Linked DNA regions of Homo sapiens: all the other regions are linked to region 5. Evidence: promoter capture Hi-C in 16 types of primary human blood cells and fetal thymus (Javierre and others, 2016). All regions are on one chromosome and are shown on one strand. Each heading gives the region's core, a stretch centred on a gene start or on the middle of the fragment in contact. The rest is flanking DNA. Distances are from core to core; before and after follow the strand shown. Region 1 overlaps NEDD4L (NEDD4 like E3 ubiquitin protein ligase). Region 2 has its middle 6.3 kb from the start of CXXC1. Region 3 holds the start of SEC11C (SEC11 homolog C, signal peptidase complex subunit). Region 4 overlaps SKA1 (spindle and kinetochore associated complex subunit 1). Region 5 holds the start of MBD2 (methyl-CpG binding domain protein 2). Region 6 holds the start of C18orf32 (chromosome 18 open reading frame 32). Region 7 overlaps MBD1 (methyl-CpG binding domain protein 1).

Region 1 (3,206 bases), core at 19-2,518, 3.8 Mb after region 5:
CGCTCTCGGGCACCCTCACCTGCCGGCGCCCGGCCGCTTACCCGGCAGGGCGTGCGCAGGGTAGGGTGCGGGACCGGGGGGACCTGGAGGCAGAGGGGAGAACCGGCCGTCCGCGCCGCAGCACAGCCGCTGGGAGCGCCTCAGACCCCGCGCGGGGCGCCGGCTCCATGGCGACCGGGCTCGGGGAGCCGGTCTATGGACTTTCCGAAGACGAGGTGAGTGGCACCCCCTTCCTGCTCGGGACTCCCCGGGGAGTTCCTATCCCGCGCCGGCAGGGGGAGGGGAAAGGGGCCGTCCCCGGGGTGCTCGTGCCCAGCGTCTGCAGGGGAGCCCCAAAGCGGGAGCGCCCCGGAGCGGGATCCAGGGGAGCTTGGGTCCTTCCGCACCCCCCACCCTCCGCAAGCCGAGCTCATTGTTTGTAAATAAAGCGGCGCGACGCCCTTGGAGCTGGGGGTTCACTCCGCAGCTCCTCGCTTTCGGGAGGAGAGGGAGGGGGCATGCGTGCCTCTCTTCCCTCTTCCTCTCCAAGCAGCGTCTCCCGGGGCTGTTGGGCAACTTTCCGCCTCTCGCCCCTGCAGCCCGGGAGTCCATGATGCATGTCACGTCTGGGTCGCGCGGCTGGAGACCCGGGACTGCGGAGAAGCCGGATCGTTTCCCCCTGGAACTTTCTCTCTCATGATTGTGTGGATCAGCAGGCGCTCAGAAGCCTGTGCGTGCTTATCCCGGCGGGAATGGGGGACACGCTGCGTGTGTCCCTCCCCTCGTTTTGCAAAGTCTACGGCCAGGATTGTGGATTTCGGAGCCTCGGTGGGGGAGGTGTTCAAGGCTGGTGGCAGGTGCTCCTGGAAACTTGGGGAGGAAGCTTGCAGCCCTGCCATTTTTTCCTCCCGAGGATTCAAAGCCCGGCACCTCCAGGGTGGGTGGGGAGAGGAAAGCTTAATTGATCTCTTTTATTAATAAAGCGACTGAATAAGCCACGCCTCCCAGGCGGTCGGTTTCACTGGAAAGGGCTTTGTTTTTACCTTCATTCTCTCTTCCGTGTCTCCCACTCCCCCCTTTTGAAACAATCCTGCTAAATCACTGCCTAGTCCTCTCTCGACCAGCCACGCTCGGCTCTTATTGGTATGTTGCTCTGCCAAAAAGGGGGGTGGGACGCTTGTCGCGGGCGCGGCGTGACAGGCAGGCTGGATGGAGCAGGTAGGAGTGGTTTGCCATCTGGCGGGGTGCGCGCTCAGGTCTGGCTCCCCTTTCGAGAGGTGAATTTTACAACCCAAGAAGCATTACTCAGCAGGGAGGTATTTCCTATCCTGGTTGTGCATTTCATGAAAAGTTGATGCCTGGAAATTCAGGCGTTCTCGATTTCTCTTTCTTCCCCTCCCTCCTTTCTTTTCAGAGGTTCCCTCTTTCTCTCGTGTTGGGGGTGGGGTTGGAAGAAAGGCTATTATCTGAGACAGGCTCGCGTTATGGCTCCGCTTTCTGCGGCTCTCCTACCCTGGCATGGTGTGTGTGTGTGCCTGTGTGCTACGTAAGTGTGGAATGAAAGGTATTTTGGGGTGGGAAGGGTGTTTAGGGTATGAATTTTTTTCTTAGCGGTGCTAGGCAAAGCTTGATGTATTTATTTGATCAAAGAATGATCACAGTGCAAATAATGTGTGATTTGTGTGTTTATTTTGCCTCGCTGTGCTTTTGTAAAATAATTTCCCGTTTTGTGTAACTACCTGGGGATAGGTGACAGTAGCATTGTTTCATTGACCCGGGGGGCTTCTCCTCTCCCTCCTGGCTTCTCTCTTTGAGGAGCTTTCCCTTGCATCCTCTACTTCTCCATTTAATTAGTGGCAGTAGAGGGCAGGCCCTGAGTTGCAGAGACGCAGACATTCCTAAACAAAGGGGCTGCTTGGGTTGACGTATTGTGGGGGGTGGGGGTGAGGACAGCTGCATTTCATCCTAGGTTCTTTTAAAAAATGTTTTAATAACATGATTATTTGTAAAAACTCCCCCGAAAAAACGATTTTAAGAGTGTTTTGGGAAGTGCAGCTGGATAAATGAAACACGTTAATGTCACTGTTGTTTGTGCTTTATTTACATTGGCAGTGAGTGTCAGAATCTACCTAGAGCACATCTTGCCACTTTTGTCCACAGGAGTCACTACTAATCATCATAACTGATGTCTAGTGTGAAAGTGAAGCTTGGAATGTAAACAGAGTCCGAGTGTGTGTTGGCATGTGACTGGATTCACTCCTGCATGTTGCTAGAAGGGAATTTGGGGCTGTATAGGAAATAGCAAGAGGTGATGAAGACACCTTTTATTATCTATTTATTGCCATGTCGCTGGTAGTATTTAGTTCCACACACATTGTATTTCACAAGATGAGTCTCAGCCGTCTTCCTTTTTCAACTTTCTCCTACCAGTGAAAAAATAAGCCAGGGCAGTTCTGATGACTTCACATTTCATTGGTATTTGTTTTTCATGGGCAGTTTCATGCTGTCACGTTGCCCTTCAGAGAATCAGGGAATGCCTTCGTAGAATATTAACGACAAATTGTTGAATTTGCACAGCTTGTTTTGTCTCCCTGAATTAGTATGTGTAAGAAAAACCAATGGAAGATTTTAGCAGGCTCTGAAAGTAGAATGCCCGCTGAAGCAAACGGCAGGGTTGTTCTTCCAAGGCGTATTAAATATGGGTACACTTAGTTTGCAGACTTGGTGTGCTGCAGAATATCACATATGAAGATATTTTGACCGCTATTTAGAAGAGTGACCTCATAAATCTTTTAGCAAAGTAGACACACATACCTACCACATTTCTTAAAAGTAGATTCGTATTTTGATTTGAGATTGTTGAAAAGCATGGTATGTTTGGAGTGCACTTAGTTATGTCCCATCTCATAAAGACTGTTGAGCTCTCTGCACTGCTGATGATGAAGCATTGCATGAACCCAGAAAACGGGGATGCCAAAGCACAGGGCTTAGGTGCTGTTCCTTGCGTCATCAGCAGAGGTCTGTCCACTTTGTAGAAGGTAAGGGGTTGAGATGTGGGCTTTGCTTGTGTGAATGTATGTGCTGTTTAATTTTTTCTGTGTGTTTCGGGCGGAGGTTTCTCTGGTGAGTTATAATTCATATTTACCCTGATTTAAGTCATGTCACTTTAGGTAGCCAGATTCAAAACCATCAGATGAAGGACTTTTGGTGTTAGAGGGATTAGCAGT
Region 2 (3,232 bases), core at 682-3,181, 3.9 Mb before region 5:
GAGGGCTAGGTCCCATTGAGTTAGAACTGGGAAGTGACTAAGCCATATCACAATGGTCTAAAACAGTATGAAAAACAGACTGTGGCCCTCTAATCTTTCTGGCATTTTGTGATTGCGGGAGGCAGGGACTGGGTCAAGACTGGACCTTGGGCAAGAATCAAAGCAGGTACTCACTCTCCAAATGGACACAGGGGCTGAGAGCAGGAACCAAGCCTAGAAGTCATTCAAGTGCAGGTGAATTGAATAAGGAGCAGGGAGGAGCCAGGATGGGTGACGGTGGTACTGACAACCACTTTGGCCCAGGGGAGAGTGGACTTGAGAATCAGCAAAAACAGCAGCCAGTGGGAGGGATATATTTAGAGCCCAGGCCATTCTATGCAGCATCCCTAGTCTGGAAAGAACTCAGACTCTGAATGCAAAGGAACTATTGTAGGTCTCTCATGAGGTTAATGTCCATTCAGGCACAAATTCAGGCAGAATTTGCTGAAACATGCCAGAAAAATAAGACCAAGGGATTCAATATCTATCTTATGTTTTCAATGACACTGAAATATTCTGTGGCTATTGCAATATCTTAAGTCATAGTTTTTAGAGGTATATTTTACAGTTCATGCCTTCAAGAACAAAGTGTTACAGCTTGAGTTTGATTCTAGGCTCTACTAATACTAGCTGCTTTACATTGCAGAGTGTAGTTAATCTTTCTGAGAACTTTTTCTCATCTATAAAAATGGGCAAAATTAACATCCTCCTAGAAAGACATCTGAGAGAATAATATGAATTAGGTCCAGAATGGGAACTCTCCAAATAGTGCCATGCGGTAAAAGATTAACTCAGCAGGCCTTGGTTGTTCAAACCTTCACATGAAAAAAAAATCTGATATTTGACTGGCTCTTGGGAGATAACCTTAAAGTGCTCAGAATTACTTGCCTAATAAGAATGTTCAGCTGGGCACAGTGGCTCACATCTGTAATCCCAGCACTTTGGTAGGCCAAGGTGGGTGGATCACCTGAGGTCAGGAGTTCAAGACCAGCCTGGCCAAGATGGGTAAACCCTGTCTCTACTAAAAATACAAAAATTAGCCAGGTGTGGTGGCGGGTGCCTGTAATCCCACTTACTCAGGAGGTTGAGGCAGGAGAATTGCTTGAACTCAGGAGGTGGAGGCTGCAGTGAGCCCAGATCACGCCATTGCACTCCAGCCTGGATGACAGAGCAAGACTCTGTCTCAAAAAGAAAAAAAGAATGTTTATATTTACCTAGGATCTTGGTCCACACCAGATAGTTTATGATAGCAATGTGATTTGTGGTGGGGACCTTGGGCCACAGGGTATCAATATGAACTCTGGAGAGGCCGGAGACTGAGTAACCAAGGTCAGCAATGGCACCCTCCATACTCATGTAACCAATCCCCTAATAAAAACCCTGGACACCAAAGCTTGGATGAGCTTCCCTGGTTTGCAATACTTCATTCATGTTATCACAACACTGTTTCTGGGATAATTAAGTGCTGTTTATATGACTCCTCTAGGAGAGGAGAACTGGAAGCATGGTCTTTCCTGTACTATAGCCTATGAGCCTTTTTGCTCATTCAATCTGTATTCTTTTGCTGTAACAAACTAATTGGGAGCTTAGCAGTGTTTTTGTATTCTGTGTGTTCTTCTAGTGAGTCATTGAACCTGAGGATGGTCTTAGGACACCTGACACAAATATCCTTTTTCCTCATATATTATACTTTCAAGCTGATGTCTCTGAAATGTTTAAAGACTGCCAAATGTCATGAACCAGTCATTTAATATCATTGATGAGGAGGACTTGTTTAGTAGCTTTAATTCTAATCTGCTCCCTCCCTACTACAGCTTCCCCGTCCCTAACAGCCACATTTCTTTTTTTTTTTCTAGATAGAGTCTCACTTTTGTCACCCAGGCTGGAGTGCAGTGATGCAATCTCAGCTCACTACAACCTCCGCCTCCCAGGTTCAAGTGATTCTCCTGCCTCAGCCTCCTGAGTAGCTGGGATTAGAGGTGCCCACCACCACACCCAGCTAATTTGTATATTTTTAGTGGAGATGGGGTTTCACCATGTTGGCCAGGCTAGTCTCGAACTCCTGACCTCAGGTGATCTGTCCACCTTAGCCTCCCAAAGTGCTGGCATTACAGGTGTGAGCCACCGCACCTGGCCCACATTTCTTATCACACTCAGGTTCCTAGAGAGGAACAAGTGCACCAGTTTTCTAATCTGACTTCTTCCTTTCCCACTTACGCCCTCTGAAAAAACCAAAAAGAATTAAATAGGCTTGCTTCTCTGGTTTGGTGGTAGATTCTTCTACTTTTTATTCCTACCCAACTCCTACGAACCAATTTCTATCCTGAATAGGTCAGTTTCTATCCATCGCAAAGCTCATCTGTAAATATCACCTTGAATTTTATAGCCTGCAGAAGCTTCCAGTTTGTGTTTTTTAGCCCCAGATCATGATGTCCTTGGTCCTACAGAAGACAGAGCAAATCTGAGGTTTGTCATACACAAAATGGAGCATTATAAAACCCTTTGGTACTGGTCTGTGTTCATGATAATTTTTTTTCTTGATTATCCCTGTGTTCTCTTCCAAAAGTTGCCGTTACAGACACCAGAACACTCCTGTAATTTTGTTAATCTGCAATGGTTTCATATATGAGCAAGTTGTTTCCTCAATGAAATTATAAACTCCCTGAAGGTAAGAACTAAGCATCTCTTGAAGAGTAAACCACACAAGGTGAATTGAATCCACAGTTGTGTTTCCTGCAGTGCTGTGAACACAGAATTGGTTTCATTACCATCTCTGTAATTGTCTATGTGCAAAGGGGGTTTTTAATGTGGCTTCTCGGGGTTGGTTTGAAGGAACAACAGAATAGAGGTGCTTGACCAACAGTTTAAGTTGCCTTCGTCTGGAGTACTGTGGAAGGCCCATCAATAATCTGCAGCACGCAGCATTCCCCAGGCCTCCTTCACTGTTTCTGTCCTTGAAGGTACCTGCTGTTCCCATTTCCAAGCCTGCAGGACCAACTCTACACAGCAAGTTCTCACAATTCAATTACAATCAAATCAAGCAGGCTCAGGAAAATCTCAAGAGTCACTTAGAGCAGCAGGAACCCAGGAACACATGGCTGGTTAACCACCTATTCAGGCACTGTCTCCTGCCTGGGCCAATCCCCTTTTCCATGTCACACACTACACATAGCAAGGGGACAACTATCCTGGG
Region 3 (3,324 bases), core at 2-2,501, 4.9 Mb after region 5:
AGAGTAGTACATTTGTTACAATTGGTGAATCTACACTGACACATCCTTATCACCCAAAGTCCACGGGTTACATCAGGGTTCACTTTGGGGTTGTACAGTCTATGTTTTGACAAATATATAATGATATGTACTCATCATTATAGTATCATACTCTCCCCCCTACCCCCGGCAACCACTGATCATTTTACTGTCTCCATAGTCTTGCCTCTAGAGTTCACGGGAAGGAGTACTTCACTGGGGAAGAGGCCACCAGTGACAGAACAAATGAAGTGAACATTCTAGTTCTCTTAATTACTTATGTCCTGGATTAAGAAAAAAATATTAATAGTAGCCATAATTCCTCCTACTGGTTCTGAGAGTCTATTTTGAGTCAGATGGGAGGTTTTTTTTGCATATTATTAATACCTCACTTGACTCTCACAACATCTCTTGCCTTTTTCAGTATGCCATGTAGTTGGGATCATACAGTATGTTGCCATTTCAGATAGACTTCTTTCACTTAGTAATATGCAGTTAAGCTTCCCTCCTGTCTTTTCATGGCTTGATATTACATTTCTTTTTTGCACTGAATAGCATTTTATTGTCTGGATATCCTGCAGTTTATTTATCCATTCACCCACTAAAGGACATCTTGGTTGCTTCCAAGTGTTGACAATTATGAATAAAGATGCTAAAAACATCCGTGTACGGGTTTTTGTGTGGACATCCGTTTTCAAGCTGGTATTTGGGTAAATACCAAGGAGTGCAATTGCTGCATCATATGGTGAGAGGATGCTTAGTTTTGGAAGAAATTGCCAAACTGTCTTCCAAAGTGGCTGTAACAAATACGGTTTTTATTTGGTGGATGAGCAAAGGGTTCATGGAGGTGAATAAATTAGTCTAAGACTGGACAATATGCAGGGACTTCTACCCAATGTCTTCCTGTGTTGCTTCTCACCCAATGCTCAACCTAAGCAGGAGCCTGGAGGCTGGGCCAAAGGTTCTGATGTGAAGATATCACACTGGGTTCTAGGTTTATTGGTCACATTTTGGACCCTTACTCTATTCCCACAAACCTGTTCCACCCACAGCTTTCCTCATTGAAGTTGAGGGGAACTCTACCCTTCTAGTTCCATAGGTTAAAAACCCTGGAGTCAGCCTCAATCTCTTTTCTTCTTTCACGCCCTATATTTATTCTTTCAAAAAATCCTGAAGACTCTTTCTTCAAAATGTATCCAGATTCTGAACCTTTAGTGCTGCCACCTTAGTTCCAGCAATTATTAGTGGCAGGGTTAACTATCACCATATCTTCCTATGTACTAAGCACTGTGTCTTGCACTTATAATTTTATACATCTGATATTTGGAAGAATTTTACACAGACTAGCTTCTGGATCTGTACATTTCAAACCTTGTTTTTCCTCTCCATCCACTTATTTCCAAGGTCAAGTGCTGCAGAACACTTTCATATCAGATGCCACTTCCAGTGGGACTTCCTGCCACGGTGCCAGGTGAGTTGGCCCAGTGGATGGCAGTATTCCCAGAAGCCATTTTTTACACGAGGATGGCAGGAAAGACCATGAACCACATAAATAAATTCACTAAACTCAAACCAAATGTATCTCCAACTCGTTTCCTCCTTAGCTGGATCCCCAAAATTCTCCTTGTCCCTCCAACAGGAGGGGAAATGTAATGGAGGTGAAGTTGGAATGCAAAGAAACAGAACTCTTAACCAATAGCAATTGCAATATCTTGCTTTTGAAAGTTTTACACATTCTATGGTTAAGTTTCTCCCACACCTTGGAAAAACACCTTTGCAATTGAAGGGTCCCAGAACTTACCTTTCATTAGCTTCATGGTAAGTCAGCTTCTGGTATATTTTAAATTGCAACCTGATCCTTTCCCCCAGACCTCCCCATTCAACTTATCTGCTTTTCCTGTTGTCATAGCACCTCCATCCTTTAGGTACCGTATAAATTATCCATTATGTCTGCCTTCGGTAGAATATAAGCTTCATGAGGGCAAGAATCTTTGCTTGTTTTGTTAACTGATGTTTCTCAAGTGCCTAGAACAAGGCCAGGTGCATGGTAGGTGCTCCATAAAGATTTGTGGATAAATAAATACAATAAAGAATGCATAATGCATACACGAGTGAGTGAATGAACCAAAGGTAATCTAGGATCAGAACTGTGATGATCTAGGACTTCTAAATTTAAAACTTTGAGTTATATTCCACTCATTTCCACTTAACCTTGGCCATGTCAATGAACCTTTCTGGGCCTTTGCTTTCTCGTGTATGAAATTAGGTGGTTATGTATTCATTTAATTAATATCTATTGCAACCCAATTATGGTCAAGGCATTCAAAGATACTTCCTTGCATACAAGTGGTACCACTCAAAATGCAGAATTCAGCGGCCTCAAAAGTCCCGCCTCTTCCAAGCCCCGCCCACCGCAGTCCATCTTTAGGCCCCGCCCCAATTCGGCTCAGCCCGCCCCAGCGTAGAGGCACCACCTTTCCTCGCTGCAGTCATCCAATAGCCAAGATACACGGCTAGGTGATTTGCGAGCGGGAGTTAGGTGTCCTCTTGGCGCCTGACCAGAGTCGGGAAATTCAGCTCCTCTTGAGTAGTCCCTTCCCCGAGTTGCCCCCCGAGGTATGCGGGGTCACTCGCTGCTCGATGTTCCCTCCGAAGGGTCGGACAAGGCTCCGGAGCCCTGTAGCTGCCCTCCCTAGGAGCCCCGGGTCTTCACTGGCCGAGGTGCCCACCCCGCAGCATTCTGGGAGTGGTAGTTTTCTTCCTTCAGGTTCATTCCTGGCTGGCCAGTGCCCAAGACTGGCGAGACTACGATTCCCAGACGCCCAAGCGAGTCGCCGGTCACGTGGCCGCAAGGACGCTGGGCCGGTGGGCGGGGGCCGGCAGGTGCTCCGCAGCCGTCTGTGCCACCCAGAGCCGGCGGGCCGCTAGGTCCCCGGAGACCCTGCTATGGTGCGTGCGGGCGCCGTGGGGGCTCATCTCCCCGCGTCCGGCTTGGATATCTTCGGGGACCTGAAGAAGATGAACAAGCGCCAGGTGACGGAGGAGGGTGGTGAGCGCGCCGTGGCCGGGACCGCCTGTGCTAGCGGGGAGTCGGGGCTTCCCAGTCAGGGCTCCGGCTCCCAGTGAATGCGGCCGGGCGGCCACCCGAAGCTCCCGCGCTGGGCTCTCAGGCCCTGGGTTCTACGCCTACGTGTGGGCATGGGTGTGCACTTCCTTGCCCTGACAAGAGCACAATTAGGGGAGGGTGCAGGAAAGGGGAGAATAGAAACCCCGTGCCATGGAATGTCAAATGTGGTTGAGAATGCC
Region 4 (3,317 bases), core at 355-2,854, 3.8 Mb before region 5:
TAACTTTTTTACTTAATAAACTTCTTAGTTTGGCTTAGCTTTTTTATTCTTTTCTAATAGCTTAAAACAAATACATTGTACAGGTGTACAAAAATATTTTTATATCTTTATGAGCTTTTTTTCTATTTTTTTTTAACTTTTTAAAATTTTTTTGTCAAAAACGAATACACACACACACACACATTAGCCTAGGCCTATGCAGGGTCAGGATCATCAACATCTGTCTTCCACATTCACATCTTGTTCCACTAGAAGGTCATCGGGGCAGTACCACACATGGAGCAGTCATCTGTGATAACAATGCCTTCTGGAATATCTCCTGAGGGATCTGCCTGAGGCTGTTTTACAGTTAACTTTTTTTTTTTAATAGGTAGAAGGAGTACACTCTAAAATAACAATACAAAGTATTGTATAGTAAATAACATAAACTAGTAACCATTTATTATCAATTATTATGTACTATACATAATTGTATGTGCTGTACTTTTGTAATACTGGCATTAGAGTTTGTTTACACCAGCATCACCACAAACATGTGAATAATGCATTGTACCATGATGTTATGATGGCTCCGATGTCACAAGGCAATAGGAATGTTTCAGCTCCGTTATAATCTTATGGGGCCACTGTCATATTTATGGTCCATTGTTGACTGAATCACTGTTATGTGGCACATTATTAAAAGGCAAGTTAAAAAAACTGATGTAGAGCTCCATAGGGGTAAAAGTAGTTCATAACCCATCTTAGAGCCTGCTTTGGAGGAAGCTTATTACTCTATATCACTGGGAAATAACTAATTGAAAATGAAATAAATTATTTAAGCATCCATGAACTTGGAGATTTTAAGTATATTTGAAAATATTTTGACGTGCTGAAATTGGATGATGCAATGAAAGTTCAGAGAAACAGATGATCCTTGTCAAATCTAAAATGTCTAAAGAATTACATACTCCCTAACCTTATCTGGGAGGGTAACGGTTTATTGGCAGACAGAATTCCATGTGCTGGGAAGGTTGTGTTGAACTTGTATTGTAGTTTGTATTATGAATTGGTAGTTTGAAAACTTTCTCAAATATGAAATTATAATGTTAGATAGGCCATTTCGAATTATACCTCCCCTCTCAGGGACGTTGATATTCTCAGTCCTGTATTGATAACTACTAATAAAGGAGCCTCATACATTTTACAGTTTATGGTTCACATACTCTGGAAAGTTAAAGCTAAAGGGACTGGGTTCATCTTAAGGAGCCCCCTGACCTCACACCTGAGGAAACTGAGACTCTCGGAAGTCAGGTGGCTGGCCCAGGTCCCTCAGCTCATGAGTACTTGGTTGGGCGACAGTTTCTGTTTCTTGATTCCCATGTTAGTACTCTTTCTATTTTGTTGCCATTTTTATTGAAGTAATTTGTAAAAGACTTTTAGATGTTTAATAATGAGTCTTGTTTAAATTCACTTTCTGAGGTTATGATTAGTCATGGATAAACAAATATAATTTGGAGATCTATACAACTATCAAGCCTTGAATTCACATGACCCACCAAAGCATAGGCCTGGCTGAAGCAGTCAGACCCATGAGATCCTTACACAGTTGTCAACTGTCATTTTGTATGGGGGGATAATAATTTGTGTGGCTCCATAGCCTATAAAATAAAGTCTGGTAGTTTGTTTGCTACTTTGGCTTCTGTAACTGACTAGATTACTACATAAAAAACAGTGACCAGACACACACCTGTAATCCCAGCACTTTGGGAGGCCAAGGCAGGCGGATCGCTTGAGCTTAGGAGTTTGAGACCAGCCTAGTAACATAGTAAGACCCTGTCTCTACACAAAATAAAAAATGAGCCAGGTGTGGTGGCGTTTACCTGTAGTCCCAGCTATTCAGGAGGCTGAGGCAGGAGGATTGCTTGAGCCTGGTAGGTTGAGGCTGCAGTGAGCTCCGATGGTGCCACTGAACTCCAGCCTGGGTGACAGAGAAAGACCCTGTCTCAAAAAAAAAAAAAAAAAAAAAAGTGGTAAACAACACCCTAAAATTTAGGTGACTAAAAGTTGAGATACCAGTGTATGGGGAAGAAATACTGTGTTCAACTAATTCTACTGAAATTATTCTCAGAGACATCAGTACTCTCATTTACTTATTAATTAGTTTTACTTGTTATGAGCTGAGTGTCAAATGCAAGTAGTGTTGCTCTATTAGATAGAATGATATACTCATGATGATGATGAATGGCAGTTAGCATTTACTGAGTATTACGTTCTACATGCAGGGCTAAGCCCATCTTATATGTACTTTCACCTATCTTCACAGTAATGAGGTAGGTACTTGGTGTCTCTGACTTCAGGCCTTCTACCTGGTTCACTCTACTGCCTCCTTAATCTACACATATTGCCAAAGTCTGCTTTTACTTATGTGTATGTCATTGTTAGATAGCTGGAAATGCAGATGGGAAGCTTCAATTATGAAGGTAGTTTTTCTTCTGTGCTTTTAATCTGCCCTTAAATTTTTTAAAAAACTACTTCTTTTATTTCTAGGGAGGAAGGGACTCTGATTTTCTCACCTAGAGAGGGGTGCTAGGAGGTGGGATTGGGACCATGAGAATATACTACTTTATAAATGTCTTATGTTTGTTTTTGCCAGGTACCCAGGGTTATCACCAGCTTGTGACTTTTTATGTTACTTTGTCTGCTTAGGGGTGGTTTTGAATAGTGTGGATAGTGTTAATATGAATTCCAAATCCATATTACAAATTCTGAAAGAGAGTTTCACCTCAACCTCACTCCCACCCCTTCCACACACACACTGAAGGGCCTGTCTAAAACATAAGCTTATTTCTCTGGTGAGTGATTACAACTTTCACTGAAAATATATTCATAAAGAAGAGTCCTAGCCTCGTTTGAGATTCTCACTTCCAACACCCTGTGTTTTAAAGCCCCAAAACCTTGGATCTTATCCCTATTAAAATCAAATATATTCAATTGCTGAGATTGACAACCTCCTGTCCAGCATTGCTCCACACTCCTCAGATTAGGGCTGCTGCAGCCTCAGCTCACACACCCTGCCTGGTATGAGGGGGAACCACAGTTCCCTCTTCATATTGGAACCCCTGGAAATTTGCCTTTTTCTCATGAAAGCTTAGCTGTGGACGTAGAAGGATGCTTGTTTTACCTCGCATTTCTAAGTGTTTTAATAAGTGGAAGAATTTGCCAGAAACAAAAGACGCAGGAGAGACATTGTCCTTGCCTCTCGCCTCCTTCTGTTCCATACTACTTAGAAATGAGGTTTCAGGATTGTCCATGGAGTCATTTTCTAGGGGCTAAAG
Region 5 (3,219 bases), core at 474-2,973:
AAGAGGACAGGAAATCCTTTATAACATTATTACAATAGCTAAATGACAATTGTCTCCAATACCCATATACATTCCCTGAAAAATGCTTCAGTCAGTCCACAAACACGTACCTCCAAACTACTGAATACAAGTTTATATTATCTTCTATCAATAGCATGGCTTATTACAAAATTTAGTAAATGTGTATTAAGTCCACGGATGTCAATTGCCATAGGCACTTTCTTGAGCTTACTGGGTCACACAAACTGAAGACATCAGCAGCATGACCACGGGATTGCAAGATTACACTAAGGTGAAAAACCTTGAATCATTTAAAACAGGATGTCTCAACCTCAGCACAGGTGACAATTTGGGCCAGATCATTCTTTGTTGTGGCAGCTTTCCTTTGTATTATCGAATATGTAGCAGCATCTCTGGCCTCTACCCACTAGATGCCAGTATCACACCCTCCCCAGGTGTGAGAACCGAAAATGTCTCCAGACATTGACAAATGTTCCCTGGGGAGCAAATTTTGGTCTAGGAGTCTAAAAACTTAGTACAGTGTGTCAGTTTCAAAAGAGTATATTCTGCAATACCAAGAAGTTCCAAAAAAACTTCAGGCATTCCAAATAGCTGCTTTATACAAAACTTTCTTGGATGAAGTAAATGAAACCTTGTTACTGTAGATAGCTCATTCTTCCACATGTGCATGCTTAACACTTGTGATGATGAATCTGGGACAGGCTGGGACAGGAGCCAACAGTGACTGGGTTTTATAGTTTCGATGAATTACACCTCCTTTTAACCCTTCAGTGGACTAACCATCCCTGCCAGGCTAACCCTTTCTTCGCAAACCATCTTCCCCGACGCCTTCCACATAAGATGCCCTCCTGCGGGCCCTCACCTTTTGACACTGCCTCCCACCGCACTGGGGTCAACTCTCACCCAAGGGTTCCGCCACCTTCCACCACCAAACCAGCCTGTCCCTGCCACATGCCCCCCGGGCCCCAGCGCTCATCCTCTGCCCAGGCCCGCTCTTGACCCCTGACCCCGGCCTGACCCCGCCACCCCCTCCCCGCCCCCAGGGAGGTACCTGAAGTAGTAGACATCGCTCTTGCCAGCACTTAGCCCAGATTTTCGGATCACTTCCTCCTTCTTCCATCCGGGGGGGAGGGCCGGGCAATCCATCCTCTTCCCGCTCTCCGTGGCCCGGGGTCCCCTGGGCCCCGGCCCCGCGCTCCCCGACGGGAAAGGGACCGGCTCCCGCCGGGGGGCGCCGCCGCCACCGCTGCCGCCGCCGCCGCAGCCGCCGCCGTCGCCGCCAAGGCCGCTGCCGCCACTCGGGGGACGGCCGCGGCCCCGGCCCCGGCCCCGTCCCCGTCCCCGGCCACGGCCCCGGCCCCGGCCACGGCCACAGACGCCGCCGCCCCGGCCCGCCTGCTTCCACCGCCCCCGGCCACGGCCGCCGCCCCGAGCGCCTTCCCTGCGCACGCCGCTCACCGGGGACGGGGCGAGCGCGCTGCCCTGGCCCCCCTGCTCTATGGCGGAGTCGCCGCCAGCGCCGCTGCCGCCCGCCGCACTCTCCCCCTCCTCCTGCTCCGGGCAGCAGCGGCCTCCCCCCGGGTGCGCGCGCATCCAGCCCCCTCCCCAGCCGGCGCTGCGCTTCTTCCGTAACCGAGCCCTTGGAATCCCGGAGACCCGCCCCGCCCGCAGCGCGGCGCGCGGGGGACGCGCGCAAGCATCATAGAGCGGGCGCGCACAGAGCGGCCCTCCTGCCCGGGGCGTGGCCCCGGCCACCGCCTCTTAGGTCCTCCAAGCGCTATGGGCGGCCATCTTGTCTCCGCCTTCTCGGGGCCACGCCCCCTCCCGCGCTTTTCCGGCCCCCACTGGGCGCGCGGAGCTGGGAAGGTTGGTCGGGCTAGCCACCAGCTGGGGGTGTCATAGTGACTGTGGTTAGTTTGTTTCAAACGGGGTAACCTCCACCATTATGTGATTTTACCTATGTTTGCTTCCCAATTAATGAATAACAAGCAAAATAGATCTTATATTACATACCAACTCGGCTATTCATTTAAGGGGGTGATAGCCCCTTTTCCCGCCCCTCTGCACAAAGCTTGCAGGGGAGCTTATAATGAAGGAATGAAGCAAAGTGTCCCATTCGCTGAATACCAGTTCCCTCCTGAGCCTGGCTTCAGAGCCATTGACAGATTCTCCTGGAACCTTGTAAGGATGTAGGAAAGGAAATGATAACTTGGAATATGCCCATGAGTCAGATGGGGCTTACCTCTAGATTCTCCTTAGAATGACCAGAATCCCTAAATCCATCTAGAAATTTCCAGATGTCTTTGTCTAATACAAAAATCAGTGGCCTTTTATTTGGTAAATATTCCATTATGTTGAAAGTCCAGCCTAACTTACTGTCACAAGCCTTTAGGAAACTGTGTGGTATTCTTTTCGGTCTGCCAACTTGAATTTTAGAAATGCATATTTTCTATAAGTTGTCGAACACTTATAGAAGTGTGCTATTGATATTCAAGATAATATATTATGAAATATTTGGAAGATTGAAAAATGTAAAGCACATGTTATCAGCCTGATGATAAGCTATCTTGGGTTTCTATACTCATATGCCCTAAAAACTGAGGACCAAGTTTAACGTATAGAAAAAGTTGATTAATATAAAGCAACAAAAATCTAAAATTAATTTGGTTTATCTTTGCAGTATATGCAAACATTAACTCATACACACAAACTTGTCTGTCTCTAAACCTGACCTTAGTCTTCTTTTAATGTCCTTTAGTTGAAAGACACTAATTTGTGGTTTCCTACAAGAAATTTAGAAATGTGAATGTAAAAAATCATCAAGAAATGAGTTCTGAGGAGATCAGTACTGGAGACATTCATTTAGAAGTCATCTGTGGGCCGGGCGCGGTGGCTCACGCCTGTAATCCCAACACTTTGGGAGGCAGAGGCGGGCAGATCACCTGAGGTCAGGAGTTCAAGACCAGCCTGGCTAACACGATGAAACTCCGTCTCTACTAAAAATGCAGAAAATTGGCTGGGCGTGGTGGCGGGCGCCCGTAGTCCCAGCTGCTCCGGAGGCTGAGGCAGGAGAATGGCGTGAACCCGGGAGGCGGAGCTTGCAGTGAACTGGATCACGCCACTGCACTCCAGCCTGGCAGACAGAGCGAGACTCTGTCTCAAAAAAAAAAAAAGAAGTCATTTGTGGCCGGGCGCGGT
Region 6 (3,170 bases), core at 426-2,925, 4.7 Mb before region 5:
GCTATGATGGCCCACTGGACTCCAGCCTGGGCCACAGAGGCAGACCCTGTCTCAAGATTAAAAAAAAAAAAAAATCCAAAAGTTGTAACCTGTCCAAAGTTCTCACAGAGGTAACTGGTAACTAGAGCTTCTAAGACCATTATTTCCAGTTCTGGTTTTCCTCAATGCTCTTGCCTTTTCCTCTTCCAAAAACACAATGGTCATGTTTTTACCAAACTTTTACCAAACTTTCCAAACCAACGAAACCCCTTCAAAACAACTGACAATGCTACCAGTACTAGTTTAGTGACTGACAGGCCCTCCATCATAAAGATTCATTTTTACTTCTGCAATTGTGTTTTAAGTAAGTTCGCACACAGTACGATGTACATAAACTCTCGAGGACAAATACTACTAATCACTTACGCCACAATTACGGCTTTTAAGAGACTTTTTAGCTCTCTTCGGAATGAAGCCTATTTGTATCTTATCTTTTAATCTTCATAATAATACTTCGGTAAGATATTTTACTTCACACATATGGAAACTGGGTCAGAAAAGTCTAGAAGGTGGCTACGAGATATTATTATTTTAATTATTCGCTCCAAGCCAACAAAGCGAGCAAAACGGATTAAAGCTGTTGCAGAGGAATCTTCTTTCACTCAACTTAAGTCCAGACAACAGAGTAGACAGTTAAAGTCTGAGGCTCCATCCGAAATAGGGAAGGCATAACAGGGAAAGTCACCTTCCTCCAAGTCATCCAGTTGAGCATGTCATCTTAGTGGAGACAGAGGGAGCGGGGACAGGTTGAGTCAATGACAATGATTGAAAAGAGACGAGAACAGAGGCCTAACGGTGAAGGTCATAGAAAGGATGTGAAACCGATACTTGGCCACGGAAAAGAACAAAATCAATATAAAGTATCGGAGAGGCAAATGCAAGCTCCGAGGGCGCCGGTGGTGGACAAAGAATACAGACAGAGGGGAGGGGAGGGCGGGGCGGAGGGCGGAGGAGCGCGCTCGCGGAAGGAAGGTACCCTGAGAGCGAAGGCAGGCACCGCGGAGGCCGGCGGGCCGCGACCGCCGAGGAGGGAGGAGGCAGGAGGCCGCGCACCGCCTAGGACTCTGCGAGCGCGGCCCGGGCTGGGCCTGCGGAGCAGCTACAAAGCCCAACCCAGGCCGCTAGCCCGGGCACACTCACCCGCGACCGCGGAAACGCAGCTGACAATGTCCGCACTTCCGGAGGGAGGGACGATCCGCAGCCGAGCCAATGGGCGCCTTCAACGGGGACGACAAAGGCGCGCTTGCGTCAACCCGGGGTCGCACAGCACGCAGCAGTGTTGCCCAAGGGGCGCGGCGAGGCTTCCGGCTCTGCGGCCTGCAGGTAGCGCGAAAGTCCTGCGCGTCCCAGATGCCCAACTAAAAGCTTCGCTGCGGGAAGAAAGCCTGACCTGACTACACCCAGACCCAGAACGCAGGATCTCGGTAAAGGATGATGCCTGTGCAAACGGCGCGGCACCCACACGGAAGGTGGCAGCTAGGCCGTTGAGGCAACTGTGGATAAGCTATTAGTTTTGCTGGTTTCTTAAATTCAAGGGCAGAGCAAACTAACATTAAGGCCAACTTTACAAACGTCAGTTGCTTAAAAGAAGCAGTTACATCACTTTATAAACGAAAAGTACTGACGCTCGCTAGGATGTCAGTACGTGTTGGCGAAGTTGTGTGAAAACTGGGACCCTCATAAACCGTTGGTGGAAATGTAGCGTGCAGCCTTTTTGGAAATATTTGGAAGTTCCTCAGATGTTTACTCAGGTAACCTTATGATCTAGCAATTCCACTCTAGTATATACTCAATAAATGAAAACACAAAAATCTGCACACAAACGTTCACAGTACCATCGTTCCTAATAGCAAAAACAAAACCCCTTTATCAATTGACGAAATGATACAGGTTGAGCATCAACCTAAAAAGCTTCAAAACCTGAGCCTGAGTGCTGTTATCATACTCAAAGGCAATGCTCAATGGAGCCATTTCCAACTGGGGATGATCAACTGGTATATTCACATACTGGATTGTTCTGCAAAGAAAACCACTGCAAATTCCTTTTGGGATAATGAAACTTTTTTTGAGACAGGGTCTTGTTCTGTCTTGCCCACGCTGGGGTGCAGTAGTGCTCACTGCAGCCTCCCACCTCAGCCCCCCAATTAGCTGGGACTACATGCAAGTGACACCACACTTACTTTTTTTTAACAGACAGGGTTCTGACATGTTGCCCTGGCTGGGCTTAAGCAGTCAGCCTCCACCTCCCAAAGTGCTGGGACTACAGAAATGAGCCACTGTGCCCAGCCATGAAAATGGTTTTTAATGGTGCAGGGTAAACAATCTTGTGTTTCTAGTTCTAATCCTAAAAAATCCTCATTTGATCCATCTTGTAAGGACACTTGAAATATGTTCACTAATAAAGACAACCAACATTCTTTTCCTTTTAATTACATTTATTTTAATGCTGAATTTACTCCCGTGCCATAAGTTTTTGTTTCTTCAGTTTCTTCTGGGATATCTGGGGAAAGAAAAATGTGTTAAGTTTCTTAGAGAAAACCACAGTACATCTTGGAGGACTTCAGCTTATTCTGGAGGCAGGAAACCTAGTCGTTAAGGACTAAGGGGGAAAAATACTTAAATGGTAGAAATCAACAGAACTTAAGTTCATTAGATGTAAAAAGAAGTGTACAGAATCACTCAGGTTCTTGACTTAAAAGAACTAAATGTGATCAATTACTGAAAACAAGCTTCTTAGATTTGGGGAGAGGGCCCATTTTGAAGTGGCTATGTACATCTAAGTGGGGCCATCAGCAGATAATCATACGGGCCTGAGGTACTGAATATAAAACTACCAGTTTTTTTTTTTTTGAGACAGCGTCTCGCTCTGTCACCCAGGCTGGAGTGCAGTGGCGCGATCTCGGCTCACTCCTAGTTCCTCCTCCCGGGTTCATGCCATTCTCCTGCCTCAGCCTCCTGAGTAGCTGGGACTACAGATACCCGCCACCACGCCCAGCTAATTTTTTTTTGCATTTTTAGTAGAGACGGGGTTTCACTGTGTTAGCCAGGATGGTCTCGATCTCCTGACCTTGTGATCCACCCACCTCAGCCTCCCAAAGTGCTGGGATTACAGAAAACTTACCATTTATTAT
Region 7 (3,300 bases), core at 278-2,777, 4.0 Mb before region 5:
AGGCTATGTTTCCCGGAACTCTCTTCCAGTAAGATGGGCCACAAGAGACATTTTGCTTGATAACCGGAGGGCGGAAGTGAAGCAGCAGCACATTGTTTTTACACTTGGAAGGTTGGTGCTGGGGCACCAGGCGTTGTTGCAGTTCACACGTTGCCATGTATCTGCTAGATCACCTCGTTGGTGTGGGCAGTAGTCAGGCCTGCAGCCAGGCCTGCAGCTGCTCCACCTTCCCCAGGATCATCCTTTCAGCTTCTCTAATTCCTGGGCCAGATGCATATTTAACTCTGTGAGGAAGGGCACCAGCTTCTTCTGCAGGACACCCACATCATCGAAGCTGGAGGTGGTGAGAGACTGACATGGGTTCCAGGCCATCCTCGTGGGTTCCAGCTCGTGCTCGTGGGCTCCACTGTGTCCTCGGTCTCCCACACTTTACATCCATCTTCCCTTCCCGAGTGCCTGCCCTGCAGACTTCAAGCTCCAGCATTAGATGCAAAGACAACAGCCTTACAGAGACTGTTTAACCAGCTCCCACAATGGCATGCGGTCAGATCCCTATAATAAATCCCTTAAAATACATATATACATAATCTTTATCTTAGTGGTTCTGCTCCTCTGATTGTACCCTAACATAAATGGTCAGCAGAAGCTTAACTCATGAGTCTAAATGTCAATCAAATAAATTTCATATAGATCATTGTCAAAATTACCAGAATACTGGGGTTGGGTGGTTGGTTCCTGGGGGAAACAAAGCAGTATCAGTCTATCCAGTCTTGACTAGGGCTGAACTAGTTAGGATGGAATAAAGGAAGGGGTGGGGAAGGTGGCAGAGGCTGGACTGTATGAGACAGAACTGGGAAATGGCTAATCCATGTCTGAATTACTTAAAGCTGCAGGGCTGGGACTAGGGTAAGGCAAGGGAGGCACACAGGATACAAAGTTTAAGGAGGCACTCACTCAGTCCTGGCCCTGTAAAGCTGGCTAACAAATTACAGGTCTAATCTTTTTGGCACTTTATGAATGAAGAATTGGGAGAGAGTGAGGTAGGGCTGAGCCAAGACTGGCTCTTGGGCAGGACTCGAAGCAGGAATTCAGCCTCCTAGAACACATTCAGGCTGAGGGCAGGAGCCAAGCACAAAGGTGATCACAGGGCAGGAGATGCACGTTGTCAGGAAAGATGAGCCAGGCTGGCAGCTTTAGTTACAAAGACTGCTCTGGCTGAAGAGGGGGAGTCAGGGTAACAAGCAAAATGGACAGCAGCCAGTGGGGAGATATATCCTGTAGGGTTTGAGGAATCCTATGCAGCACCTGGGGTCTGCAGGAAACCCAGTTTCTGTATGAACAGATGCTCTGACAAGGTGACCCCATCTACATTGAGCCTTGGCACTCCCTAAACCATGCTAGAGACAGGAATGTAAGGGATTTATTATAGTAATTATAGTAATCTGTGTTTTCAAGGTCACCGAAAACTCCTGTTAGTGCATACAGGATTACAGGTTACAGTTTAGTGGAGTAAAGAACAAGGGCTTTAAAAGCTGGGTTTGAGTCTAGGCTCTACTAACACCAGCTGTTCGACATTGGACAAATTAATGAGTCTCAGTTTTCCCATCCACATAAATGGACAAAATCAATGTCTTCCCAAAAATATTATTTTAAGGATTAAATAAACTGGGTCCACAGAGGAACACACCAAATAGCAGTTCCTTTCCTTATTTATTCAATTACATTTTCAATTGCTATCTCCCTGAGGAAGTATGTAGAGACACTGCCAGGTCTCATCCAGAAGCCACTTACAATTACTCATGAACATGGCTTGTTTAGGTTGTTTTGTGGTGGCTTTAATTATATTACCTTTCTCCAACCCAGCTCCCCCACCCTTAAAATCCAACTTCTTATACTCAGGCTCTTGGGGAGGAGAAGATGCACCAACTTTCTACTCTTTCTCTTCCTTTCCCGCTTACTTCTTCTAGAAGCTCAAAGTACTCTTAGGCCTGCTCTTCTGGTTTGGTAGTAGGTTTTTCCTCCTAGGGTTGATTCACACACAAGCCCTGGCAACCAATCTAGGGTCCAGCCCCTAGTAGATCAGTGTTGTCTCTCATAAAGCCAGTCTGCAAATATCACCTTGAATCCTACAGTCTGTAGAAGCCTCCAGTCTACTGCTTTCTAGCTCCAGGTTTTTTAAGGTCTTTGGACCTAGGGAAAAGGGAGCAGGTCTGTATGTTGAATGAGGTTTGCTATGTGCGCAATGGAGCATTACAAAACCATTTCCTACTATTCTGTGTCCTCCATCCACTTCCCCTTAATTATCCTTTATCTTTTTTTATATCTTCTAAAAACTACCATTATAGACAGCTTGTACATAGTCAGATTATAAGCTCCCTGAAGGTAGGTATCCTGTGTCTCCTGAAGGGTAAGCTTTGCAGGGCTCATTGTCCTCAATGCTGTGCACCCAACAGGAACTCAATCAATACTTCTGTAATTGGCCAAGTATAGATGAAAGGGTTTCTAGCCTGGTGGGCTGGTTTGTAGGAGCAAAGGAATCCAAGTGCTTAGGCCAATAGTTTACATCGCCAGTGTCTGGGGCTCTATGCAGGGTCTGTCAATATTCTGCAGGAGCCAGCACTCCTCTGTCCTCCCAACCACCCTAGTCCTTACAGGCATCTACCCTTTGTTCTATGCCAGGACTACAGGGACAGTTCTGCAAGGCATCTGAAGTTAATAACCTCAATAGGCTCAGGAAAGGCTCAAGAGATCCAGCCCAAGCCCTTCCACAGAGGCCGCTCCAGGAAGTGCAGGGCAACCAGAGATCACACAACTACGTGTGAACCCAGCTCACAAAGCCAGCTCGGAACCCAGATCTCCTGCCCATACCACTGCCCAGGCAAGCCCAGCACCATTTCTCTGGTACACATTGCTCAATGTCAGGCAACAGCCCACCCAGAGGTCTCCTGGAGACTCTAAAGGCCTTCAAGACCCAAATGATTATTCTCTGAATAAGAATTTATATATTAAAGCTGACCCCTATAGAAATTCCTTAGGAAAATAGGGACCAGACTCCCTATCTTTTTCTTTCAAATCTCATGATAGAGTACCAAGTCTTTCCCCTACCCCCAAAGGAGAGTCCTAACCTGGAATGCTATTGGGCTGGATCTCAGGAGAAATCTCTAGGGTCCTACACACACGCCCCTCATTAATTGTGACCAGCATAGTGGGTATGGGCCTTTACCTCCCACCACACCATGCCAAACTGCCGGCTATACTTTCAAAACTCAGGGCCCACATCTGGCCAACACCCACTCCTTC

Evidence for each region. Contacts are between HindIII fragments. The CHiCAGO score rates a contact against its expected background, and 5 or more counts as called.
Region 1: a fragment that was not itself captured here is called in contact with the fragment with the promoter of MBD2 in region 5 in 2 of 17 cell types (total B cells and activated CD4 T cells); the score reaches 5.2 in total B cells.
Region 2: a contact is called between a fragment that was not itself captured here and the fragment with the promoter of MBD2 in region 5, in 1 of 17 cell types (non-activated CD4 T cells). The highest score is 5.7, in non-activated CD4 T cells.
Region 3: a fragment that was not itself captured here is called in contact with the fragment with the promoter of MBD2 in region 5 in 2 of 17 cell types (naive CD8 T cells and non-activated CD4 T cells); the score reaches 10.4 in naive CD8 T cells.
Region 4: a contact is called between a fragment that was not itself captured here and the fragment with the promoter of MBD2 in region 5, in 2 of 17 cell types (total CD4 T cells and total CD8 T cells). The highest score is 8.4, in total CD4 T cells.
Region 6: a contact is called between a fragment that was not itself captured here and the fragment with the promoter of MBD2 in region 5, in 1 of 17 cell types (naive CD8 T cells). The highest score is 8.0, in naive CD8 T cells.
Region 7: a contact is called between a fragment that was not itself captured here and the fragment with the promoter of MBD2 in region 5, in 3 of 17 cell types (total B cells, naive CD8 T cells and naive B cells). The highest score is 9.6, in total B cells.

The regions. Positions count from the first base shown.
Region 1 is chr18:58,044,494-58,047,699 of GRCh38, forward strand. NEDD4L (NEDD4 like E3 ubiquitin protein ligase) reads left to right here. Exons shown (of 31, transcript NM_001144967.3): 1 at 1-215. The coding sequence starts at 168. Among named protein-coding and RNA genes, the nearest start is that of NEDD4L, 1.9 kb to the left of the region's middle. RefSeq lists a silencer at 1-367. The HindIII fragment of the contact is 670 bases long and covers 934-1,603 here.
Region 2 is chr18:50,292,388-50,295,619 of GRCh38, forward strand. No RefSeq gene overlaps it. Among named protein-coding and RNA genes, the nearest start is that of CXXC1, 6.3 kb to the left of the region's middle. The HindIII fragment of the contact is 1,003 bases long and covers 1,431-2,433 here.
Region 3 is chr18:59,136,985-59,140,308 of GRCh38, forward strand. It overlaps SEC11C (SEC11 homolog C, signal peptidase complex subunit), which reads left to right and starts at 2,900. Exons shown (of 6, transcript NM_033280.4): 1 at 2,900-3,051. The coding sequence starts at 2,965. RefSeq lists silencers at 2,330-2,379, 2,800-2,939 and enhancers at 2,490-2,579, 2,660-2,759. The HindIII fragment of the contact is 1,471 bases long and covers 517-1,987 here.
Region 4 is chr18:50,376,688-50,380,004 of GRCh38, forward strand. The region is part of intron 2 of SKA1 (spindle and kinetochore associated complex subunit 1); the gene reads left to right. Among named protein-coding and RNA genes, the nearest start is that of SKA1, 3.3 kb to the left of the region's middle. The HindIII fragment of the contact is 1,683 bases long and covers 764-2,446 here.
Region 5 is chr18:54,222,946-54,226,164 of GRCh38, forward strand. It overlaps MBD2 (methyl-CpG binding domain protein 2), which reads right to left and starts at 1,724. Exons shown (of 7, transcript NM_003927.5): 1 at 1,073-1,724. The coding sequence starts at 1,614. RefSeq lists a silencer at 1,425-1,814 and enhancers at 2,565-3,107, 3,108-3,219. The HindIII fragment of the contact is 9,949 bases long and covers 1-2,090 here.
Region 6 is chr18:49,486,028-49,489,197 of GRCh38, forward strand. It overlaps C18orf32 (chromosome 18 open reading frame 32), which reads right to left and starts at 1,207. Exons shown (of 3, transcript NM_001035005.4): 1 at 1,016-1,207. The region is part of intron 5 of RPL17-C18orf32 (RPL17-C18orf32 readthrough); the gene reads right to left. It overlaps RPL17 (ribosomal protein L17), which reads right to left. Exons shown (of 7, transcript NM_001035006.5): 7 at 2,454-2,539. The coding sequence ends at 2,492. MIR1539 (microRNA 1539) reads left to right here and starts at 1,346; the gene lies at 1,346-1,395. RefSeq lists a silencer at 936-1,065 and an enhancer at 1,106-1,265. The HindIII fragment of the contact is 546 bases long and covers 1,403-1,948 here.
Region 7 is chr18:50,269,351-50,272,650 of GRCh38, forward strand. It overlaps MBD1 (methyl-CpG binding domain protein 1), which reads right to left. Exons shown (of 17, transcript NM_015846.4): 16 at 2,119-2,190; 17 at 1-468. The coding sequence ends at 2,151. Among named protein-coding and RNA genes, the nearest start is that of CFAP53, 4.5 kb to the left of the region's middle. The HindIII fragment of the contact is 1,766 bases long and covers 645-2,410 here.